Linked DNA regions of Homo sapiens: regions 1, 2 and 4 are each linked to region 3. The links are contacts of gene promoters, found by promoter capture Hi-C in blood cells and fetal thymus (Javierre and others, 2016). All regions are on one chromosome and are shown on one strand. The core of a region is centred on a gene start or on the middle of the fragment in contact, and the rest is flanking DNA. Distances in the headings are between cores, read along the strand shown.

The links. Contacts are between HindIII fragments. The CHiCAGO score rates a contact against its expected background, and 5 or more counts as called.
Region 1: a contact is called between the fragment with the promoter of RCHY1 here and the fragment with the promoter of POLR2B in region 3, in 1 of 17 cell types (fetal thymus). The highest score is 13.5, in fetal thymus.
Region 2: the fragment with the promoter of YTHDC1 here is called in contact with the fragment with the promoter of POLR2B in region 3 in 1 of 17 cell types (fetal thymus); the score reaches 5.6 in fetal thymus.
Region 4: a contact is called between the fragment with the promoter of ANKRD17 here and the fragment with the promoter of POLR2B in region 3, in 1 of 17 cell types (total B cells). The highest score is 6.2, in total B cells.

Annotation. Positions count from the first base shown.
Region 1 is chr4:75,512,294-75,516,935 of GRCh38, forward strand. RCHY1 (ring finger and CHY zinc finger domain containing 1) reads right to left here and starts at 2,110. Exons shown (of 9, transcript NM_015436.4): 1 at 1,904-2,110. The coding sequence starts at 1,993. THAP6 (THAP domain containing 6) reads left to right here and starts at 2,180. Exons shown (of 5, transcript NM_144721.6): 1 at 2,180-2,227; 2 at 3,140-3,239; 3 at 4,479-4,642. The coding sequence starts at 3,160. RefSeq lists enhancers at 1,219-2,149, 1,836-2,315, 2,150-3,080, 2,656-2,875. The HindIII fragment of the contact is 8,040 bases long and covers 1,870-4,642 here.
Region 2 is chr4:68,347,536-68,352,258 of GRCh38, forward strand. It overlaps YTHDC1 (YTH N6-methyladenosine RNA binding protein C1), which reads right to left and starts at 2,555. Exons shown (of 17, transcript NM_001031732.4): 1 at 2,191-2,555. The coding sequence starts at 2,218. RefSeq lists an enhancer at 1,924-2,503. The HindIII fragment of the contact is 7,711 bases long and covers 1-4,723 here.
Region 3 is chr4:56,975,880-56,980,524 of GRCh38, forward strand. POLR2B (RNA polymerase II subunit B) reads left to right here and starts at 3,017. Exons shown (of 25, transcript NM_000938.3): 1 at 3,017-3,125. The coding sequence starts at 3,107. It overlaps NOA1 (nitric oxide associated 1), which reads right to left and starts at 1,727. Exons shown (of 7, transcript NM_032313.4): 1 at 563-1,727. The coding sequence starts at 1,706. RefSeq lists enhancers at 960-1,019, 1,400-1,469, 3,291-3,390 and a silencer at 1,220-1,299. The HindIII fragment of the contact is 1,293 bases long and covers 2,911-4,203 here.
Region 4 is chr4:73,256,983-73,261,323 of GRCh38, forward strand. ANKRD17 (ankyrin repeat domain 17) reads right to left here and starts at 1,816. Exons shown (of 34, transcript NM_032217.5): 1 at 1,294-1,816. The coding sequence starts at 1,686. It overlaps ANKRD17-DT (ANKRD17 divergent transcript), which reads left to right and starts at 2,184. Exons shown (of 5, transcript NR_187399.1): 1 at 2,184-2,426. RefSeq lists a silencer at 1,508-1,907 and enhancers at 1,869-2,465, 2,068-2,337. The HindIII fragment of the contact is 8,436 bases long and covers 1-4,341 here.

The DNA of each region.
Region 1 (4,642 bases), core at 860-3,359, about 19 Mb after region 3:
TCTGCTGATGACCTTATTTCACTATAAAAACAGTAAACATACTTCCTGCTGACAGGCCTGAAAAGAACATCCTCCTATTATCTCTATTAACTTACTTGCAAATATACCTCATTCTCTGCCTTCCCTTAGGAAGAACTGACAGTCTATGTTTCTAAGGCCAACTCCTTCACTTGTGCACTGGATTTCATCCCCTTTGGCTACTCAGGGACAATGCCCTTACAGTTTTCTCACTCTCTCCTGCATTATAAAACGTTCTCACTCTATTGTATCATTTCCTAGAATATACAAACATGCTGTAATACTTCCTCTCTTAAAGAGGAAAAAATATGGTGCCAGATCTCCCAGCAACCACATCTTTTTTTTGCTCCCCTTTACAGCTAAACCCCAAGAATACCCTATAAGTGCTATTTTCAATTCCACTCCTCCCATTCTTTCCTAAATTCACTCTAATCCTGATCTCTCCACTAAAACTCCTCTTGTCAAGATCACCAGTGACCTCTTCCTTGCCAAATCCAAAGGGCAATTCTCAGTTATCTTACTCAAACAGCTGCATTTGACCCAGCTGACCACATCCTCCTTGAAATACTTCACTTGGCCTCTGGTATTTAAGGGGGGGGGGGGGGCGGGGGAAGGCAAAAACTGTTTGACACCTAGGGCGAAGTATCTTAGTGCTATGATACACAGATCTAATTGTGTGGTTTATGGGGGGCACCAAGATGTTAAATTCCGTTTTAGACCTCAAGTTTGAAAGAATAATAATACATCTCAGTAGAAATTGAATCATAAGGATAGCATTCAATTTCCTTACACAACACTTGGTGGATGACCAACATTTTTAAGGAGCTTCATCCAGTTCAGTGGAGCAATGTTCGTCAAGCCATGACCTATAGAAAAGAGTTTAGGATGCACGTACAGGCCTGAGACTTGAACTTGCTTCTAATAATGAGGCAGTGACCAGCAAGGCTGACTTGTGAAGTGAAAGAACAAAAAATAATAATACTCAGATTGACGATGATAGTAACAGTCATGGTGGTATATATTTACTACTCATTTACTTCAGGGAATGCGCCCTGTTAAACACTATACACGCCCTTTAGTATATAATCCTCATACACTTTTATGAAACAGGCGCGATCATCTCCATTTTACATACGGGGTAGAGAGGAGCTAGCTAAAATCAGTTATTAAAGAGGAGAGCTAAGATTTGGGGATAGGGCGGTTGAGGTTCCAAAGCTCAAGTTTTCTAAGCAAAATTTTTGTACTGTTTCTTGCAAGGAAAATCAGGAAACTTCAATTGAATACGTGCCAATTTAAAAAAAAATACAGATTAAGAAGTTTTCTCAGAGTAACAATACATGCTTATTAGGCACTTTCCTATGCATAATTTCCTATTTAATGGCAATTACATGATTGTCTTCTTTTTTGGGACACACGTTTTCTCCTACGTCTGAACATGTGCACTGCCTTTAACATGAAGCTGGCAGGCTATAAAACTTTACCACAGGAGCTGAAATCGTATTCGGGTTCTCCACTTGCTTATTTCCATTATCTCCACTTCCATTATTTCATCACACACCTGAACGGAAAACCCCAGTACAGGCCCGGGGCTGCCTCAGTCTACTTCGGCAGCAAAAGACGAATAAGCCCACTGGCAGAGACCACTGTGCAAGCCTAATCACTTCCCAAGAAGGGTTTTGCTTTAAAGGTACGAAGCAGGTAGGAAAGGTGGGGCTTATCGCCTTGCCAAAAACGTTCTCCTCAAGAAGAACCCAGTTCCAGGTGGAAAAGGTATCCTGAAAATCAGGTTAACCTCAAACTTAAATCCAAGCCTAACCACCTGCCCAGCCCGCCCCAGCCCAACCTGACGGAAGCTTGTCAGGGAAGAGTCCATAGAAGGCGTCACCTTTAGGAGACATCCTCTGTCATAGTGCTCGCAGCCCCGCTGACCTCGCTCTTGACCGCTGGCGCCATCTTCCCGGGCCGTCGCCGCCATCTCCTCCACCTCCCCTCACATTCCACCGATCCTTCCCCCAGGATAAAAACCACGCCCAGAGAAGCTGCGCCTCTCTAGCACACCCCTCCCAGCCCCAGCGGCCACTAGCGACAATATGGCTCCTAAGCACGTGACCCGGGGCAGACGGATTTCCGGTTCCCGGGGCTACGAGGCGGAAGCGAAGGCAGACGCAGTCTCCGTCGTTGACGTTAGTCGCAGTCTTCGCTGCTAACGGTAATAACTCTTAGGTTGCCTGTTTTCCCCCAATCGCTACCCGCCCAAATCTCAGGGCGTAGTTCGGCGCGAGGTTGGCGGCAGCGGCGCGGAGACGCTGGTTGGCCCCAGAGGAAAGGACGCTCACTGGGCGCATCGTTACCTGTGACGGGTCCTCCCTCTCTCCCTCCGGTGGCGGGGAGCCTGGAGAAAGGGGCGGAGCTCGGCCCGGGCCCTGGGCTCAGCGGGTCCCGCGCGCTGCTCTTGGACGCCAGGGTGCTCGCTGGCACCTCGAAGTGCTTCTTGCTTCCTCCCTTTCCCGTTTACTTGCTGTTCTTTCAAAATATGTACTGACATTCACTATTGCCAGTCACCAGCTAAACCGTGAGGACAAAAAGTAAGGAAAAATAGACACACTCCACCATGACCTCATGGAACTAACAAGACTGGTGGAGGAGGAAGACATTAATAAGAGCAATCACTGCAATAAATGTAAGATTACAACCTGGAGAAGTGCTAGGAAGAAGTGTGTGTCCTGTGAGAGCTAATATTAGAGCAGCTCTGACAATCTGAGTGTCAGTGAGGGAAGGCTTCCCTGGGGAAGCGATGCAAGCCGAGGGCTGAAAGATGGGTAGGAGTTAGTGTGCAAAAGGCTTTGTGGCACAAAGAACATGGTACCTGTTAGAAGGTGGAAGGAAAATGTACAAGCCAACAAAATTGAAATCATACTCGGGGTACACAGCTAAATATGTTTCTCCTTATTAAAGAGTCAAGGCCCTGGAAAATGATGTAAGCAAAGCTGCAGGTGTTAGAAGAAGATATTTGTCTTTAGCTTTCTATCCTGATTTTGTGTTTCCTAAAACACCGGGAAAGGGAAAATATTCCCCTTCAGCTTTCCGGTTACTAACTCTTAACATTCTAATTTTCTTTCAGTTTTGTTATGAGTTGCTAAAATGGTGAAATGCTGCTCCGCCATTGGATGTGCTTCTCGCTGCTTGCCAAATTCGAAGTTAAAAGGACTGACATTTCACGTGTAAGATTTTGCTGTAGTTAAGCCAAATACTTTGGCCATGTTATAAAAAGCAAAAGACAGTTCTACTTAAGTCTTCAATTTTGAACTTTAGTTCCCGAGTCCTTTTTAAATAACCTTTTTGTTAAATTTGAAGTGACAATGTGATACCTTTACATGTTTATAATTTAGTTTAAAAGTTTTAAGATATCAGAGACTTTAAGATATCAGAGACTGGTTTACAAAAAATACCATAAGGCTAACTTTTGCTAATATTATTACTTTGTATTTTATCACACCGCCAAAGAAATTCAATGTTGTTTACATGTAGTTTACAATCTGAATGAAGGAGCTTTGCTCGAATATATTGCCCTCTCTATTTAGAAGTAGATCAAGCATAGGTTATAGAGAAAAAATACAAATTACAAGTTAAGACCAAGGGATCTTTAGCTGTGTTGCAAATAAATCAAAATGATTTTAGTTTCATATTTTAGCCATTCTCTTGACAGCCATGAAGGAGTAAGTGAAGGAGTAATAAGATTTAATAGTTGTTCACTTGTTAAAGGTTTATTTTGCTGCTTTTGTGCCAGGCACTGTCCTATGTGTTAGAGAAAGATCTCCTAGCTATTTTGTTAGATATAATAAATCAAAACTGAGCATATATATCCTACCTTATTTTAGAAAAATTTGAACCAGCTTGAAAATTGAGTAAGATATGGCTATTAGGCCTTCATATCTCTCAAAATAGCTCTGATCTCCAGAACTCCACACTGCAGCTATTCTCTGCATTCATTCACTAAGCATCTGTAGACCTGCTATGTATTAAATGCTGTACTAAGCAATTTTCTGGTGCTGACAGAAGAATGGAATTACAAGGGGCCCTTTTTATCGAGGATAAATTCTGGATATCATTTCAGATAGGAAAAGGCCCAAGTGATAATTCTTTTATCATCTATAGATGAATAAATACCTTCAATTGTGGATCTTACTATAAGATGCTAAATATCCATTGAAACTTTTCTTCCTTATAATGTGAGAAAAAATGAAATGAGGGCCATATATCTGCAGCATGATTGGCAGAAAATCTGAATATTAAAACGGAAAGTAACAAAAGCATGAATTATGGTTTCCTAAATATTATAATTCTCAAGACTAATAAACTAGTTAACGAATCAATTTAGTCACAGTTGTATAAGGCAGCTTTAATTCAATTATATAGCAATAGTATTTGATTTTAAAATATTTTTTGTATTTTTTTTCTAGATTCCCCACAGATGAAAACATCAAAAGGAAATGGGTATTAGCAATGAAAAGACTTGATGTGAATGCAGCCGGCATTTGGGAGCCTAAAAAAGGAGATGTGTTGTGTTCGAGGCACTTTAAGAAGACAGATTTTGACAGAAGTGCTCCAAATATTAAACTGAAAC
Region 2 (4,723 bases), core at 1,305-3,804, about 11 Mb after region 3:
AAACCCCATCAAGAACTCTATGAACAAGGGTCTTTACTGTTCTGTGATTAATATAATTGCCAATTTCTGCAACTTATAGACTCATTTGCTATCAAGATCTTAAACCATTTATGGAATCATTTGAGAAAGAACTTAACGTTTGTGACATGACTGAGATTTTTAGAGGGTTTATCCTTATAATTTCCTGTTTCATGTAAGACAATAAAGCGCTTAAGAGTCCCACTTTTCCTTAAGAGAGGAAGACCTAAGTATTGATTCTAACTATAAAGCTAAGTGTGTGATGATGATCATCAAGTAAATGATACAACCTGTAGGTTACCTAGAACTCTCCCAAAACGAAATAAACAATTCCAGTAGGTAAGTGCTAGTTCTCCGTGTAGTCCAGAAACAATCTTTGTTCTAAACTATAAAGATAAAGCACTTACATCAAGTTTTTAAATAAAGTTATGAAAATTAAATAAAAAAAACTAAGCAAATGTGAGGCAAAGAACCTTTTCAAAAGTGGGGAAATGTATCCTATGTATAGACAACAGGTGATATCACTACTTCCCAGTAATAGCTACACAGTTTATGTATTTGGACTGCATTATCATCACTAAATCATTTCTAAAGCAAAACTTTTAAAATCATCTACTTTTCTTCTTCAATGTGCATTACTGCGTCTACTCTATTAACGACTTGTAAATATTTTCATCTTAGACAACGAATTCTTGAGAAGTACTGAATTTTACTCATTTTTGTGTTTGGTTCATTTCGCCCACCACAACCACTACAGACTCCCATATCCACAGTTCATAAATTAGAAAGACAATCAGATGTTTGCTGAATACTTACTAATTAAGATCATGTATTTTAATAACTGAGTTAACTAATTAAAAGCATTTTCCTTTACTCACTAACACCATACAATCCTATGTTCCCATTACTTCTGGATTTCTCAAAAAAAAAAAAAAAAAAGGCCCAGGGAGATTTTTTAGCATTTAGTTTAAGGATGGAACATTAAACTGCTATAACCTAATCAAAGAACTACTTTAGGATAAGGGCAGTATCTTAAAAGTATTCCCACCCATTCCACTTTCCCAGCTTGTCCCTAACCTAGGGCAGTTCATTGAAGCATGAAGACTCTCCTGATGCAGAAACCAGAAAAATTAAGAAAAAAGGATTACACGCCTAATGTAACTTGACTCTAGAGCCCACTTAACAACCCCCGACAAAAAAACCCCAAATCAATTAGGCACACAGAAGAGATGTGTGAGACACAGAGCAGCGACCGTGTCATATTTTTAACTATAATCTTTCCAAGACTATTATGTTAATCTTAGGGTTGAAAAAGATCTTAAAGCAGCATTTAATCTAGACCACTCTCCAGAGAGACACTGATCTAGGACCTACATTAATATCTCTAGGGCTTGGGAACTTAGTATTACTATCTTTCCATTACAGCAACGTCAGTTCTCTCTACATTTCACTGAAATTTATCCCTCCAACTCTCTGTAACTTGCATTCATTTGTTTCTGACTGTACCCTCTGGGAGCTACACACGGTTTTTCTAACATAATAGCACCCAGGATTTCTTTGCCAGCCTAAGTCACACAGTCATCTTTCCAAACTAAGTATTCCTTTTTCCAAGTACTATGTTTTTCCAAAATAAGTATTCGAGGAACAAAACGGGTAATTCACTTTGCCTATTTAACAGGAACAGCCAGAAGTTATTTGCAGATATTTCTCAAGATTAATAACCTGCCAGTGCCACTTCCTAAACTTGCTCACTTACCACACCACCAGTGTTGATCGCGGCATTAGGGGTTTTCAAATTTTAGCCTAACAGAAATGGTTGTCCTGAAAATACGCGTTACATCCGCATGATCCTACCAGGAAATAAACCTAGGAGCTTGCAACTCAGAAAGGGCCCCTCTCAGCCCAAGACAGCTAAACGGAAAGTCAAGCGTGAAATCCGCATCAAAGAAAAACCCTACTGAGATGAAGTGCTAGGCCATATGGAGACTGAGGACGAAAGGGCAGGCCTGGTCTCCGCCAGAGTCTAAGTGTCTCGGTGGGGGCCACCGGCTCCTCGCGAGGCCAGCTAACCTCCCCAACCCCCACCCCCCACCCCCAACGACGACCACTGCTCCATCACCCCACTCCCGGGCCCCAGCCTCGCCTCGGCCCGTCATCTTTCTCCGCACTAACCTTTCTCCTCCCGACTGTCAGCCGCCATGGCTCCCCTTCGGTTTCCGCCGCTGCCACCGCCGCCGCCGCTTAGACGCGACTCGCGCGGGCGCCGCAGCCGCGGCAGAAGCACGGGCCCGTCCGTCAGTCCGTCTGCCCGGATACGCGCGTCGCACTTGGCCTCTTAACACTCAGCCTTCTCGACTCTTCCCGCTTTTTCCCTTTCTCCCTTCCTTTCACTCCAGCATCCAGCGGCCTAGGCCCAGCCTTCTCGTTAGGGCTCAGACTCGGGCTAGGTATGGGGGAGGGAAGGGAAACAGATGGCGACGGCGGGCGGCGCTAAAATGGAGCCTGCTTCCTGCGCGAAACAATCCCGCTCCCGAAATGCCCTGCGCTGTTTACGCTTCGTTCCTCTCTGGGAACGTCACAGTGCGGAGAGGGGCGGGGAGGCGGGGACGTGCAAAGGAACGTGACGTGACGTCAGCGCGTCGCCCTGCCGCCCTCAGCCCACTGGTACCTGGAAGGAGTCTTATTCAGGGATTAGGTTACCCAGGTTGTTCATGGAGTTCCCGCTGTACGGCCTATAACTGGATGGCGCAATTTTCCCACCTGAAACTCTTAGTGCAGGGCCTAACAGGCCTTCTTAGCTAGAGTCGCTCTAAAGGACTCCTGATTCAGTTCGGGTAATCGGAGTCTTATTTAGGACAAGTCTGGGTGAATCCCTTATGTTTACCAGATGTACTTTCTTAGTTGGAGTTCCACTCTTACCCAAAGGCAGTGCAGCATGCAACCAGCTTGTTTGTAGTCACAAAAGCCTGCTAGTTTTTGTTTGTTTTGAGACGGAGTCTCGCTCTGTCGCTAGGTTGGAGTGCAGCAGCGCGATCTCGGCTCACCGCAACCTCCGCCTCCCAGGTTCAAGCGATTCTCCTGGCTCTGCCTCCTGAGTAGCTGGGACTACAGGCGCCCGCCACCACGCCCAGTTAATTTTTTTATTTTTAGTAGAGACGGGATTTCACCATGTTGGCCAGGATGAAGTGCTGGGATTACAGGCGTGAGCTACCACGCCCGGCCTAGTTTTGTTTTTAATTGGGGAAAGAATTGTATCATAATAGGTCTTTGTAATTAATAACTAATTTAAACATGTTATCAAGGCCCTGGGGCACAAAATTGATTTAAGCAGACCATCGAGGAATCGAAACTACAGAATAAATGACCAGTAGATACATAACTACATAGTGTGGTAAAATCTGCAAGAGAAACTTGCTTAAGATTCATTGTCCAACGGAAACAATCTAATTTTGCTTCCTTGAACTATAACTGAGTTATAAGGGAAAGAAAAATCTGAAAAAGGTAACTAAGTAACTTCGTGATATGAAGACAAACTGGCAAACTAACTGCATATTCAGGGAAAGACAAGTAGTCTAGAAGTCTAGAATGTGGTACCTCTTTTTTTTTGAGACGTGGTCTCACTGTGACACAGGCTGGAGTGCAGTGGTGTGATCATGGCTCACTGCAACCTTGGGCTCAAGTGATCCTCCCACCTTAACCTCCCAGGTAGCTGGAACTACAGGCATGCTCCACCACATCCGACACATTTTTTGCATTTTTTGTGGAGATATACCATCTCCGCAAGATGGCTAACACCTAGCCATCTTGCCCAGGCTAGTGTCTAAATCCTGGGCTCCAGCAATCCTCCCACCTCGGCCTCCCAAAGTGCGGGATTACAGGTGTGAAGCCACCAGGAGTGGCCCCATTTCTAGGACCTTAATTGAACACTAATTTGAATATACGAACACGCACACGCCACAAACACACACACACACACACATTAAATAATATCTGATGATCCTGAGGAATTGCTATTTGTATTTTTAGTTTTAATAAGTTTTGCTTTTTAAAGAATTTCTTATAATTTCATGATTCATATGAAAATATTTGCAGGCCAGATGCAGTGGCTCATACCTGTAATCCCAGCACTTCGGGAGGCCCAGGCGGGCGGATCACCTGTGGTCAGGAGTTTGAGACCAGCCTGACCAATATGGTGAAACCCCGTCTCTGCTAAAAATACAAAAATTAGCCAGGCATGATGGCATGCGCCTGTAGTCCCAGCTACTCGGGAGGCTAAGGCAGAATTGCTTGAACCCGGGAGGCGGAGGTTGCAGTGAGCTGAGATTGTGCCACTTTCACCCCAACCAGGACAACAGAGCTAGACTCTGTCTCAAAATAATAATAAGAATAGTAATAAATATTTGCAAATGAAATTATATGGTATCTGGGATTTATCAAACTGGTGGCAGGTGTAGCGAAATGGGTAGGAGAATAGATTAAACAAGTCTACCCATGAGTTAACAATTGTTGAAGCTGGGCGATACATATGTGAAAGGAAAATCTCCCCAACATCACTAAGCCAAAGGAAGAAGTCAAGCTGGTGATTGATGTCTCATGTATCCCTAAAATGTATAAAATGAAGCTGTGCACGACCACCTTGGGCACATGTCATCAGGACAGCTTGAGGCTGTCATGGGCTCTTTCTTAACCTTGGCAAAATAAACTT
Region 3 (4,645 bases), core at 1,767-4,266:
ACAAAACAAACACAAAAATTAGCTTGGTGTGGTGGCGCATGCCTCGAATCCCAGCTACTAGGGAGGCTGAGGCAGGAGAATCACTTGAACCCGGGAGGCGGAGGTTGCAGTGAGCCGAGATCACGCCACTGCACTCCAGCCTGGGCGACAGAGTGAGACTCTGTCTCCAAAACAAAACAAACAAACAAAACACAAAGTTCATTAGGTTCAGACAGTAAAAAGGACGCACACTTTCTGGAACAATATACAAAGAAGTTACAAAGCAAATCTCCAGAACAGGAACTTTGCTTTGTTCCCTGGTCTATCTCCAGTGCTTAGTGACTGGGAACAGAGACGTGCTCCATAAACACTTCCATTGAAAATTACTACAACACATCCTCAATTTTCCCTAGCAGTAAGCTGACACAGAAGAGAGGTGTGACCAGAGTGGGGAGAGAATTTGTAAAGGGAAGGGTACAGGCAGCCCGCAGTGGACATTAAGGGAGGATGTACTCGGTGCCTCGGCCAGGACCAGACGTCCACCTTGCCAGGAAACGAAGAGGGCGAGCCTCCTAAAACTCACCTGGCCAAGGGGAGATGGTGGCTCTGTCGATGGCCTCGGAGCCCTTGGCAGTGCAGTAATCGGACTCCAGGAGCGTGTTAAAGAGAGTGGATTTGCCGGCGTTGGTGGCGCCCACTAAGTAGACGTCCCCACGGTAGCGCCAGGAGCGCTGAAGGGCAGAGATCAACTCTTCCACTCCATAGCCGGTCTTGGCGCTGATCAGCCGCACGTCCCTGACCACTGTGCGGGACCAGTTCGGCGGATTCGGATTCTCCCCGTCCTGTGGCTCGTCCTTGACGGGGCGCTGTGGCCCTTGGTGGCCAGGGGCCAGCAGGAGCCCGGCGCGGGCACAGTCCTCCCACAGTCGCTCCCGCAGCCTCTGCCGGTAGCCAGGAGCATCCTGGGGCAGGAGGTCCACTTTGTTTCCCAGCACGATCAGCTGCTTGGGGCCCACCAGCGCGGGCAAGTCGGGCAGCAGGGCGTCGGGCAGGTCCAGCAGGTCCACCATGTAGAGCACCAGGGAGGGGCCGGGCCGCCGCAACGCGGCGCTCACCAGCTCCAGGTACTGCTCGCGGCTCACCTGCAGGCGTAGAGCGCGCCGGTGGTGCGACAGCAGCCAGCAGCGCTGGCACACGGTCCGTGCCAGCCCGCCGTCTGCCTCCGCCGTGCGGAGGAACTTCTCTCGGGGCAGGTAGCCGGGCACTCCGGCGTCCTGGCAGTGCAGCTCTGCCCCACAGCCCGAGCAGTTCACGCCGCTGGGCGGCAATGCCGGGTCCGGGTGCCCCACGACCGGGTGCTCCCGGGACCTGGCCCGTAGGTTTTGCTGTCGCCGCTCCTCCCGCCGCTGCTGCCTCTGTCGCTCCTCCTCCTCCTGCTGTTGCTGGAGCTCCTGCAGCTGCTTTTCGCGGGTGGGTTGCGGCTCCGGATCCAGGATGTACTCCGGGAACAGAAAACGCTCCTGCATGTCACCACCTTCTCCAAAGCCCTCCGTGTCCACGGGGTCATAAGGAAGCTCGCGTCCCAGACTCGATGAGTGCTGGAAGGAGGAGGCGGCAGCGCACCTCCTCTCCAGGAGCGGCTCCCGGAGGCCATGGCGCGCTGCCGTGGGAGCGGATCCACGAAGGAAAAGGCTCAGCAGCCTGAACGGTAGGCGAGCGGGCAGCATGAGGAAGTAGCTCCAAAGGGGCGGAGCCACCAGCGCGCACGCGCACTAGGGTCCGAGGCGCGCATTTGACCCGAGACGAAAGCGCGTGGGTACTTGGGAGCTGTCCTGGTTGGTTTTGCGTCTAATCCCGTCAGTTCTCGCGATTTAAGCTCTGAGACTGAGAACCTACTTAAAGCTATGGCAAAGGCACTGGAGGATTGAGCTAGGTGGGCAGAAAAGAGCAGTGAGTGTTTTGGGTTTTTTCACTTTCAGGCTTAACGCCTCACTGCTAGCACAAGCCGCCCTTAATAAATCACACTTAAAAAGGAGCTTCCGGGGTCGGGCGCGGTGGCTCACGCCTGTAATCCCAGCAATTTGGGAGGCCGAGGCGGGCGGATCATGAGGTCAGGAGATCGAGACCATCCTGGCTTACACGGTGAAACCCCCATCTCTGCTAAAAATACAAAAAATTAGCCAGGCGTGGTGGCGGGCGCCTGTAGTCCCAGCTACTCGGGAGGCTGAGGCAGGAGAATGGCTTGAACGCGGGAGGCGGAGGTTGCAGTGAGCCGAGATCGCGCCACTGCACTCCAGCCTGGGCGACAGAGCGAGCCTGTCTCAAAAAAACAAAACAAAACAAAAACAGAAAGGAGCTTCCGGCCGGGCGCGTGGCTCACGCCTGTAATCCCAGCACTTTGGGAGGCCGAGGCGGGTGGATCACCTGAGGTCAGCAGTTCGAGACCAGCCTGGCCAACGTGGTGAAACCCCGTCTCTACTAAAAATACAAAAATTACCCGGGCGTGGTGACCCTTGCCTGTAATCCCAGCTATTTGGGAGGCCGAGGCAGGAGAATCGCTTGAACCCGGGAGACGGAGGTTGCAGTGAGCCGAGATCGCTCCACTGCACTCCAGCCTGGGCGACAGAGCGAGACTCCATTTCAAAAAATAATAAATAAATAAAAATAAAAAATAGCTTCGTGTTTTGGTCCTTATAAAGGCAAATAAATTGAGCATCCCAATGTTGCGGATTCACAGGACGAACACTTTTTAATAATAAGTATACCTGGTTTTGTTTTCAGGTGTCGTTATTTGTGCAACAACATTGAAAAACAAGCAGAAATAAAACATTGACGGAACGGATACGACCGCAGATTGCGGGAGCTGTCCTCTCAATCAGCCCGGCAGCGGCGGCCCACAATTTACGCGTGTGCAACCCTAACCCCGGCCCAAGCTTGACCTACAATTTGCGCAGGCGCAGATCCTAACTTTGGCGTCCCTGTGGGCGGCCTTTGGTGTGAGACGCGTGGTATTCTGGGAACGTCGGAGACGGAAGTTACTTCGTCTTTAGCTCCTGGCGCTGCTGGCTTCTGGGCGGTTTTTGTCTTTTGATTTCAAGAGTTAGGAGCTCGAGAACCGTTTGGCAATATGTACGACGCGGATGAGGGTAGGTGAACGCTCAAAACACACGCCGTGGCGGTCCATTTAAGCAGGAAAGCGTTGGGAACTGATTGGATTGAGGATTTGGGGCCTTCCCATGCGCCGGCTGCACAGTCCCCAGCCTTGTTCCCACACTTACCAGGCCGGGAACGAAACTGGGGTAGGGAGAGGCGGAGGGTGCAGGGAACATAGTGTTAATGTTCCAGGTTACGTTCACTGCTGCTCTCTGCACTTTCTCGTTCCGTTAGATCTGATCCTCGTTTCCTGTGGTGAAGTAGCGTGCAGAATCGTAAGATAAATTACGTTTTGAATTTGAAGCAAAGGGCACCCTTTAAAAATTTTCCTTAAAGCCACAGTCGACTTAACGAATAGCTCAATTGTTGAGTGTCAGCCTGTGTCAGGCAGTGTGGAAGGTCCTGGAAATATTCCGGGACAGAGAATATCGGGGGGTGGGGGTGGCGGGGGGGACTCGGTTTAGTCTGACATTTCTTCATACTGTTTGTAAGTCAAAGTAAATTGTCTTAAAGGATGACTTTTAACTTCCTCTTCTCACAATGTCACAGTTCTCAGATGATATGTATTCTGCTGCACTGGGCCAATGTATAATACCTGTTTGTTTGCGCATATGGAATTCTTAGTAGTGGCCGAGCGCGGTGGCTCCCGTCAGCACTTTGGGAGGCCGAGATGTGCAGATCGCTTGAGACCAACCTGACAAACATGGGGAAATCCTGTATCTACTAAAAATACAAAAATTAGCCTAGTGTGATGGCGTGCGCCTGTAATCCCAGCTACTCGGGAGGCTGAGGCCGGACGATCGCTTGAGCCCAGGAGGCGGAGTTTGCAGTGAGCTGAGATCGCACCACTACACCACAGCCTGAGTGACAGAGTTAGACTGTCTCAAAAAAAAAAAAAAAAAATTCTTAGTTGAGTCTAGTGTATTTTCGTAGCCGCCTTTTCCATTCTCCATATCTGCTAATTCAAACCTTATTTTCTTATAGCTCTCAATTCCTTGGCCACCCCCTACATCTCCTCTCTCTATTCCCTCAGGTACTTCTGATAAATCAGATGGAAAAAATTGAAGCAAAAGCTTAATTTTTTTTTTTTTTTTTTAAGAGATGGGGTCTGGCCATGTTGCCCAGGCTGGTCTCAAACTCCTGAGGTCAAACCATCTGCCTGTCTCGGCCTCCCAAAGTGCTGGGATTACAAGCATGAGCCAATGTGCCCAGCCAAAAGCTTAAACTTTTAAAGCTGTTTAAACTTCTGTCTCATTTATATCTTGTGTTGTAGAAATTTATTAGCATCATTATATTCCTTGTTCTTTTTTAACTACTATCTCAGTAGAAGAAAAATTCGAAAAAAAAGATTTTTAAAGCATAATTTTTGGCTGGGTAATATATTCTCATAGCTCACAAGCCAGAAAATTTAAAAATGTTAAAGTGGGGTGGCTGGTGCAGTGGCTCACGCCTGTTATCCCAGCATTTTGGGAGTCTGAGGCGGGTGGATTACTTGAGCTCAGGAGTTCGAGAG
Region 4 (4,341 bases), core at 566-3,065, about 16 Mb after region 3:
ACTTCTCTATTTCAACAGAGACCAGGATTCAATAATTCCAATTTTCGGAAAACCAGACTTGCATCAAAATAAGTTCCATGTTTGTGGAAGAGAATAAATAGTAAGTGGTACTTTTAGATGAATCACTTGGTCTCCTCTTAGAACTAAGTTTAAAATCAGCCTTTAAAGCTGTTTTCCCTCTGCTGATAAAGATTTCCCTCTCCAAATAAAGATTTTTCTAGATTCTATTTCAGGAAGGAGACAAGAGAGTGGTAAAACAGCTAATAACTAGTAAAGCTAACTCTCAGTTGGTTGTCAGTATGGTATGTTTTACTGAGCCTTTGGGTTGTAAGGGCTTCTGTGAGGAATAAGGTCCTGCAACGCCGCCTGTCTGTGGACCCAGGAAAAATTATAAAGTTATTATGAAACCAGATCACTAGGACAAACCGAGAGGCCTTCCTATTCCAACTCACCACAACCAGGCCTGGCTCCAAAGCCTACCCTTTGGCTGTCCCATATTACGGGACAACAGGTCCTAGCTTAATTCTAACTCACTAAGGAAACATTCGAAGGCATGTATGTATGTACGTGTAAGGATCAAATATATTTTTCATCCACTTACAAATGTATATGGTCATTTGTAATTATTTAAAGTTACTGATAAATTTATACAAATACAGCATCAGTTCATCGAAAATCCCTGGGAGATCGAGGAAATGAAGTTACTTCAGCAGCCAGGATAGTTACGAAAAACCCTGCAGAACAGTATGGAAAAGTACAGCTTCTCACGTGTCCCTCACATACACAAACACTTAGCTCTGAGTCCATTACAACCTTACGTCCCCCCTCAAACTGCTCCCCTCCACCTCACAACTGGGAGAAGTTGATCAACCTCCTAGTTGGTCCCCAAGAGACTCATTTACCCATTATTTTACTCCTCCCGCTTTGATCCCGATCCCGCCTCAGACTAAGGTGGCCCTACTGGCCCCAGGCAGACCACCCCCCCACCCCCCGGCGTGCAAACAGGGAATCTAACCAATTCCCTCCATCCTTAACCAAGTGAGCCATCCCATGATAACAGGCTGTTCACCAACTCTGTGAACTCCGTGGTCCTCCCACCCCCACGTGTCAGCTACCCTCCCCCACATTCCCACACCTCACGATTTAGGCCGAGGGAAGAAAGGGGGCAGTCGAAAGCCTGGCCCCTAAGAGATCAACCCACTGGAATCTGTCCCACTCCAAATCCCCTCCCACCTTCGGCCCCTATCCCTTACAGTCCCTTCCTCCCTCCTTCCTTTGAAACCAGGCCCTTGCCTCAGAAACCTCCTCTTCCTCGTCGTCGTCGTCCTCTTCTTCCTCGCTGTTGTTACTGCTGGTGCCGCCGCCGCCACCTCCGCCTCCACCGCCGCCTCCACCGCCGCCGCTGTTGTCGCTGTCGCTGCTGCTTTCGCTGCTGCTGGGGGGTCGGCAAGTCCGGTTACGCTTGGCCTTGTGGTGCTGCTGCTGCGGCGGCTTCTTCTTCAGGAGCAGGTCGCAGACTCGCACCATCCCACGAGGAGACGAGGCCGAGCGAGCTCTGCTGCTGCCGCCAACGCCGCCGCCGACCTCCGCCGCCGCGGGGGGGCCCGCCACAGCCGCCACCGCCGGGGGGCTCCCTTCTCCTTCTGCAGCCGTCGCCGCCGCCACCGGAACCGTCGCCTTCTCCATCCCCAGGGAAAGAGGGAGGGCGCGGACGGGGGAGGGGCGTGGGGCTACGCTCTACCGCGACTTCGGCCGCACTGGGGCCGACACAGCAATCGGTGCCGCCTCCGCCGCCACCGCCTCGGTCACCTCTACTGCCGCCGCCGCCGCCGCCGCTCCGCCAGCTCTCACCTCGTCTCGCGATACTAAGGGCGGGGAGCCTGACGATGGGAGGGAGGGAGGGAGGGAGAGGGAGGGAGCAAGGGAAGGAGGGTGAGGCGTAACAGGGAGACCGGGTGTCGGGAGAACCAGAGGAGAGGAGACTGGAAAGAAGCGGGGAAGTGTGCCTGGGGCAGCTTCCGAAGGGGAACGGCGGGGACAGATGAGGGGGGCGCGATTGCAACCAGAGCGCCCGCGAGCTCCCGGATTTCTTCTCTTTCCTCGCTATTTCCCGCACACACAGCCCTGCAGCCCTCCCTTCTTCCTTCCTGGCTTGTGATTAGAACGCAGCCGCAGGCGGAAGTGCAGTGACGCCATCAGCCGTCGCCTGAGCCGTGGCGCGCGGGTGGCCGAAAGGCGAAAGTGAGATTTCAAGGGCCGGGTCTGGGGCCCCGCGGGCGCGCAGTGCTGCGGCGTGTGGGGAGTACGGGGAGGCTGGAGAGGAGCCGGCCCCGGGCAGTGTGAGGTGCGGAAGCGCGGTCCAGACACTTTGCTGACGGGAGGCCGGTCCGCCAGATCCGGGAGGTGGGGCCTCGTTCTGGACTGCTGTACGTAGTTTTATTCCTGGTCATTTTTTTCCACCGCCAAATCGAGAGATAGAGCTTTGGATCATGAGAGATGGCGTCGTGTTGGGAAAAGAGCCTTCTTTACCTGAGTTTAAGCTCGGCTCATAGACATCCTCTACCTGAGTTTACACGTGTGTAATATGAAGGCAGTCGATTAGGAGATGTCTAAGATCATTACTTACACCTCAAGTTTCCAAGGGGAGGAAGACACGGGAAGGATGCGTGGTCTGTGCCAGACTTTGTAGACGATTCACTGAATGACCCTGATTTAGCTCTTCCGGCCCTCTTCGATTCAGCTTGGAAGCAAGCATAAATAGTGATTGTTGTCTGTATACTTCTCTCGGAAGGAATGCTGTTATGGGAGTTGTGGGTTCATTTTTAGGTGTCTGAAGAAGTTTCAGGACTTTTGAAATGATAGTGGAGCCCATTGAACTCAGAATTATCCCTTTCTGGTCTAGTAGGAGTATAGTGGCATACGGAAAATGAAGCAAACATCAAAGACAGATGTACTGGCACAAGATTAAAAGTATGTCTCAGCTGACATAGTTGCCATTTTAAGACTGCTTAGTTTAGCTGAATATGCCTGGATTTTTTTTTTTTTTAGCATTTTTTTTCTTTTTAGCATTGGCATACCATATGAAATGTGGGCAGTTGCCAGTACTCTACAGAGTACCAAGGCAGAATTGGCAATGACTAAATCAATTCATTCAAACAAAAATTCATCATGTGCCTACTGTGCGCATAATTTGTGGAATCAAAGTCTCTTGTTTCCAGGGGCTTTACAGTGTAATAAGTGCTATAGTAAATATATATACGGAGTGGTAACCATCTGCCTATTCCTCTCCTACAGTCGTTGCTGAGTTCCAGTGTAGAACAGAGCACTGCATTGTGTATCTCACCACTACTGATTTAGATTTTATAATTTCAGCTGCATCCCTCCCTCCTACTTTGTATATTCTTCAGCATCTTTTTCTCCCTTTCCACTTGAATACTTTTCGCAATCTTTAAATCCCAGCCCATTTTATTATATGACTTTTAACTTAGACTTCACAATTTTCCAAGTGCTAGAAATTTCCTGAGATTGCCTTTTCTCCAGTATCAACGAATGAGAGACTCCCTGTTCATATATGAGATAAACTCTTCATACATATTCTAGTTCCAATACCCCTCTTTCTCATGCATTTATTATCTTTTCTGTTGTCAACCTTCTACAAATTCTGGTTCCTTAGCTAATTCTTCTGTAGCTTTCAATTATTTCCTTCACAAGCAAACTTTCTTTCTTTAAAAAGTATTCTATACTCAGGAGGCTGAAGCAGGAGAATCGCTTGAACCTGCGAGGCGGAGTTTGCAGTGAGCTGAGATCCTGCTACTGCACTCTAGCTTGGGCGACAGAGCGAGACTCCATCTCAAAAAAAAAGTGTCTACAATCAGTGTCTTTTTTGTTTTCTGAAATTGACTTGTCAGCCCTCTGCAGTCTAGTCTCTGTGTCTATCGTGCTGTGCTACCAAAAATGCTCTCTTTAAAGTAATCTCATTGTTTGGAAGAAAATGAGTTTTTTGTTCTTTAATATAATAGTGAAATGATGATCCTGTTTCACTAGTAGGATAAGGTTCAAAACTATTAAAATGGACAAGGCATGTAAAGTCACTTTCTTTTATTTTTATCTTTTTTTCCCCCCGTTAGAACCTCTGGCAGGGACTGACTAGCCCATGAAACTTATTTCTTCTTCCCGGGCACACAGCTAAACTAAATTTCACAGCTTTCCTTGTAGTTGGTTATAGTCATGTGATGAACTTCTTTTTTTGAGACAGAGTTTAGCTCTTGTTGCTCAGGCTGGAATGCAATGGCACAATCTCAGCTCACCGCAACCTCCGCCTCCCGTGTTCAAGCGATTCTC